Regions from separate parts of the Homo sapiens genome. Here region 1 is linked to region 2. Evidence: promoter capture Hi-C in 16 types of primary human blood cells and fetal thymus (Javierre and others, 2016). All regions are on one chromosome and are shown on one strand. Each heading gives the region's core, a stretch centred on a gene start or on the middle of the fragment in contact. The rest is flanking DNA. Distances are from core to core; before and after follow the strand shown.

Region 1 (3,138 bases), core at 30-2,529, 88 kb after region 2:
AGGCACCGGTGGAAGCAGACATAGCTTGGTAATCTGTGGTGTATTCTCGGAAGGTACCACTTGAATGGGAAAGAGGAGACAGACAAAGACAACCAAGAGGCTTGAACTTGACAAAAATTATTTATAACAAAATGGGCAGCTTTGTGCATAGAGGTGCATGTAAATATATACAAAATGCTAATAGTATCAGAAGATGAACATCCTGCTTTGTTCAGTGATTTCATGGAGTTGTTTTGCATTTCCTTGTCATGTTCTCTGTCTACATGTTTAAAGGGAGGATTACATGTGAACACTATCCGGTATTATGCATCTAAGCTTGTGTTACCAATCATTGGTAGATAGATAGTGAGGTAACTTCTAGTTCCCATCTCCTCTGGTAAGAGCTAAGATGCAAACTCTTTGTGATGAACTGACATCAAGATGAAATATAGCACCCCTGTTTTCTCTGCGTCAGTCTGCCTTCAGGCTCACCCTGTGAACTCACCAAAGGGAGTGAAGTGTGGATGTGTCTCTTTTACCTATTTTCACCTTGGTTCAGTTCTGGTTTATGCATTGTCCAGACTACCCAGGATGTGACGATTGCAGGGAGGAGGTCATGTTTGTCATAAAAATGCTTTGGCTCCTTAGGATTCAGCAAAGGTATCCACTGCCTGGTGTCTGTGGTGCCTGCAGGACAGTGCATTCTGTAGGAAAACAGGAAGAAAAGAGGGCTTTCAGGCCATCTTCACATCAACCCTACGACAGACATTTTCAAATATTGTTCTCACCATCCTTACTCCCTCCCAGGCCCCTGAGATGCTCATGCCCTTGGATTAAACCCCTGCAGTGCTGGAAGAAGAGGACTCTGCACTGCCTGCCACACCAGGACTGGAAGATCCATGGCCTTCCCTTCTTCCAAACTACCTTCCCACAAGATGGGGATGGTGGTCACATCTCCAACACTAGCATGCTGTGGAAGAGACATCAGCATTCTTGCAACAAATCTGGAAACAGCCTAAAGAGACATTTCTACTTCAAAGAGTTGCACTGAGGAAGTGCACTGGCACTGCTGGGGACTCACCTGGGGCCCAGGGCTGAGGCTTCTCGTGTCCTTGGAGCTGCTGTCCTCCCGAGGAGTGTCCACACTGCAGCCAGCTCAGCCTCAGGTGTCTTCTCTGGTTTTGAAACCAAATCTAAGTGGGAAAAGAAGATTCAAGTTTTATCCGATTTAGTCTACATAATTTTAAGTATCTATTTGAGCTCAATACCAAGAATCACTTCCTTCTCTCTCCCATCTGTGATCTCCAGAGGAAAGGTCCCCGGGCTAGGAGACACTGGCTGGCATCCTAAAGCCAGAGCTGGCCAAAGGGTGTGTGTCCACTCTTCCTTCACCTCTTCCCCACCCCACACTTGTTTTTGTCTCACGCTCACTTGCTCTTTCTGCCTCCCTCTCACTCTTTAGGTCTCACAAAGGCTTTGGCCAAAGACTGACTGACTTTCCTTGGCTCTCTGTCATCTCCCCATAGTCAAAAGCATTTCATAACACACAATCCATGTGAAGGGACCTCTGATGAAAATCCATTTAAAGAGGAGCTCACTAATTATCAATACTTACTGCTGAGCCTGGAATCATTCATATATACCTCAGAGTTCATTCATTCCAGATGCAATACTAGATAAGGAGACTCCTATGAACCAAATATCTAACTCTGAATAGATAGTGACTGTCATAATCAAACCCTGTGGCTGCCTCCTCCTTACTGGAGGGTGTAGAGGAATGCAGTTTTTTGTTTGTTTATTTGTTTGTTTTGAGATCATCTCGCTGCAATGTCCAGGCTGGAGTACAATGGTGCGATCTCGGCTCACTGCAACCTCCGCCTCCCAGGTTCAAACAATTCTCCTGCCTTAGCCTCCCGAGTAGCTGGGATTACAGGCACACACCATCGTGCCCTGGCTAATTTTTGTATTTTGTGTAGAGACGGGGTTTCACCATGTTGGCCAGGCTGGCCTTGAACTCCTGACCTTGGATGATCACCCGCCTTGGCTCCCAAAGTGCTGAGATTACAGGCATGAGCCACCGTGCTCGGCCAGGAATGTGCTTTTAATCATTCCTTAGTGTTTCATGTGGGGACTTGATAACTCACGATAAGGATTCTATCCTAAAAGACAAGCGATACCTGTTGACCTGCTCTTATGTCCCAGGCAGTTTGTAAAACTGTTACATCTGTTCTCTCAATATGTCACTTCAAATACGATCAGGAAAGAAAGCTTAAACATGGCTGGAAATGTAGAGGCAACAAATACATTAGTGAACACCCTGGCAGATCCAGCCTCATTCTACATGGTTTCTTGTGCTTTCCTTCCGCACCACCAACTCCAGTGGGCTGGTTGCCAGTGCACCAGCCAATTTCCATGTCTTCCCATGGGACACACTTTTTTTTTTTTTTTGAGACGGATTTTTGCTCTTATGCCCAGGCTGGAGTGCAATGGCCCTATCTGGGCTCACTACAACCTCCGCCAACCGGGTTCAAGCAATTCTCCTGTCTCAGCCTCCTGAGTAGCTGGGATTACAGGCACATGCCACCACGACTGGCTAATTTTTGTATTTTTAATAAAGACAAGGTTTCACCATACTGGCCAGGCTGTTCTCGAACTCCTGCCTCGGCCTCCAAAAGTGCTGGGATTACCGACGTGAGCCACTGCCCCTGGCCTGGGACACACTTTCATTCTGGGATTTGATGTAGCACTCTGACACCTGGACTGGGTGCATAAAGAGAAGGAAATACATCTTCATCTGGCCTTCCTGAAACTCAGAACCCTGTATCCCAGAGCTTACTCAGGATTATAGCATTTGATATAAAACCCTGACCATAGGCTTTTCTTCGACACAGTCCCTTTTACTTAGTTATTGACAGTCTGGATACACTTCTCCTGGTGTGATTGTGATCTTTCCAGCTATTTCTTTCTTAACTGGAGAAACAGAAGGGTTTTTTTATTATTTATTTATTTATTTATTGAGACAGAGTCTCACTCTGTCACCCAGGCTGGAGTGCAGTGCTGTGATCTCAGCTCACTGCAACCTCTGCCCCCTGGGTTCAAGCAATTCTCTGCCACAGGTGCCTGCTACCATACCTGGTTAATTTTTGTATTTTTAGTAGA
Region 2 (2,919 bases), core at 113-2,612:
AAATGAGGCGGTGGATATTGTAATTACCCCGATTTGATCATGACACATTGTATGCATATATCAAAATATCACATGTACCCCACAAATATGTACATTATGTACCAAAAAAAAAAACTAAAATAAGCAGCAAAAACCACTTCCAGCTAGCATGGTGCTTACGAAATGCCTAAGCTCAGTTATCAGCCAATGAGAGGCATTATAAGATCACCACCATAAAATGGAGGAACTGATGAACTGCAGTTTTCATCTTTAAAAAAATTTTTTGTCCCATTTCCTGTCTTTAGAAACTAGCCTCTGGGCTGGATGGGATTCCCAGCTTCTCCTGTAAAATGCAAAATTGAGGGCTCAAATTGTGGTTTCAATTTACACGTTTCACAGTCCTCTGAGAAGAGACTAAGGTTGGAGGATGCAGGAAGGCCTTAAATAATTCACCTTTTGACTCAAGTGCTCTGAAGATTCCCCAAGCATTTTTGGAAACAGAACACTACCTGGTTGAGACTGGGTTCAAGTACACCACACAGCTACGTTCTGGTGGTGCTCAAGGGGCAAATGCTGTGCTAAATACAAGTCAAGACTGGATTTTAGTGTGGCAAGGCGCATTAACTCAGAGGAAAAAGTGAGGATTTACATCCCACCTGCTAATACTGTGGGTAAACGGATTTCTCTCTCTGAATCTTTAATAGTCACATTTATTTTAATAGAGATGGTTAAGTCGAAAGGATGGTTACGATGATTAAATGAGCCAATAATGAAAACAGCATGTTTTGTAATAATAGAAGCAGCTCACCTTTATTGAGTCCTGTATCATACTTTACATCTATTACCCTATTCAGTACCCAAAGGCCCCCATCATTTGCCAGATGCGCGTCGAGCCGCACTGGGACCACCTACAGACGCTGGACCAGAGCCCACGTCCCTGCGGCTTTGGAGCGCCGCGTCTGCAGCGGCCAGCGCGCCTCACATGGCGGCTCCGGTCACGTCACACAATGCGGCTGCTCCGGGCGCCCACTGCCCAGCACCGCAGGCCTCCTCTGGCCGCCCCTCAAGCAGGTCGCGCAAACGCCATTCCGGGCAGGGGCGCCAGCGCAGCCAGCCAACCTCCCCACCAGGCGGCTCCCACCCAGGGCCCTCCGCGGAGGCCGCTCCGGGGCCAGGAGGCGGCTTCCAGGCTCGAGACCCCGCCTCCCAGGCCCTGCCCGCCCGCAAAAGCCTTCGACACACCTGCAGGGTCTCGGCCTCTGCTCCCGGCCCGCGCCGGGCCCAGGCCCCGCCCTTTGCGGCCCAGCCCAGACCCGGAGGCACCGGAGTCCTCTCCCCACCCTAGGGCGTAAGACCAAAAAAACGCCAATGCCAGAAAGAAGACACTGCACATGCGCAGAACGTTTCCCTAGCCCTACTCCAGAACTACGCTTCCCAGAAGGCCCGGCTGCGACTCCATCTTGGATGACGTCGTGAGGCGCGGCCGCCTCCAGCGGCCTGAGTGATTGCTGTCGGGTTTCCGGGAGAGGGCGCTGTCCTTGCTCAGTGATGGCCGGAGAGCTGCACCCTGCACGTCTGGGCTTGAAGACAGAAATCCACCGTGAGGTGCTCCAAGGAACACTGATGGGCAGTTTTGTTAAAGTGATTGAACTCCGTGGGTACAGGAGTACGTGGAGTAATGAAGGATAATGCCCTGTAACCGCTTCCTCTTAGGAATGCTAGCTTTCACAATTGTGCAAACGGTACGCGAAACGTAATAAACTACAAAATATGTATAAGCTAAAACAGAAAACGAGTATACCACTTCCCAAAAGCAAAAGCGCTTAATGTTAGGTGAACATCCTTCTCATGAATTTACACAAATTTTAACCTAATGGTATAGAGTATCATGACTATCATTTCACTAAGGAATATATATAGTCATCCCTCCTTATCCTGGGGGTGCATATCTATGGATTCAACTAAGCTCAGAATGAAAATACTTAAAAATTCTATCTTACTGAACATGTACAAAGTTTCCCCCTTGTCATTATACCCTAAACAATACAATAAAACTATTTACATAGTATTTACATTGTGTTAGGTGTACAATTAATCTAGACATAATTTAAAATATACAGGAGGAGGTGTGTAGGTTATGCAAATATCAGGTTATTTTCTACCAGAGACTTGAACATCCCTGGATTTGAGTAATCCAGGGAGGTCCTGGTACTAATCCCCCGCGGATACAGAGAGAGGACTTGGCTGTATATGTAAAACAAATTATATATTTCCTGGTCAATAACTTTATTACATTAAAACATGTAGAATCATCTAGAAAAAAACGTATATATTGTCATGTGTATAAACACACATATATATACATATAAAAATATGCGCACATAATACACACACACACACCACCTTTCTGGATGGGAAGTATTGAGGAAATAATTTAAAATAAAGCCTCTTGCCAACCCAGAAAATTCTCTCCACAGATGGAGAAAAGAACAAAACAGTTACATTATTGAATAAACATTAAACCAGACTGCGATGTGCGTCACAGGCAACCCACTAATGAGTTTATGAAGACAGGAAGAACTATCATTTTTTGTATTAGCCGGTCTGGTACAACGCATTCTATTTCCTCAAGGTAAAAATAACTTGTCCTCAAGTAAGATGACTGTACAGCAACATTTGCTATGCATAATTCATCTGAAATTCACCTGATAATTAGGGTAGCCATCAGTGTTAGTTAATTGCCATTATGCAAATGAAAAGTAAAGTTTCTGGTATCTCTATGACACGCAGGTAGTTAACCGCGGGTAGCCAGGAGCCTAGGAGTTTACCACAGAGGCAGGGAGATGGGGTGCAATCTTCCTTGATGCTTACATTTCAAAGACATGACCCAAGGCCATTAAGAAAGACCTTCCTGGGTTGTTAAACTAGCAAGAAGCTTAT

Evidence for each region. Contacts are between HindIII fragments. The CHiCAGO score rates a contact against its expected background, and 5 or more counts as called.
Region 1: a fragment that was not itself captured here is called in contact with the fragment with the promoter of ZNF25 in region 2 in 1 of 17 cell types (neutrophils); the score reaches 5.5 in neutrophils.

What each region holds. Positions count from the first base shown.
Region 1 is chr10:38,063,302-38,066,439 of GRCh38, forward strand. It overlaps a transcript of ZNF33A not described here. Among named protein-coding and RNA genes, the nearest start is that of ZNF37A, 29 kb to the right of the region's middle. The HindIII fragment of the contact is 1,932 bases long and covers 314-2,245 here.
Region 2 is chr10:37,975,285-37,978,203 of GRCh38, forward strand. It overlaps ZNF25 (zinc finger protein 25), which reads right to left and starts at 1,363. Exons shown (of 6, transcript NM_145011.4): 1 at 1,222-1,363. ZNF25-DT (ZNF25 divergent transcript) reads left to right here and starts at 1,471. Exons shown (of 6, transcript XR_930830.4): 1 at 1,471-1,721. RefSeq lists enhancers at 247-336, 1,377-1,606 and a silencer at 927-1,336. The HindIII fragment of the contact is 11,670 bases long and covers 1-2,912 here.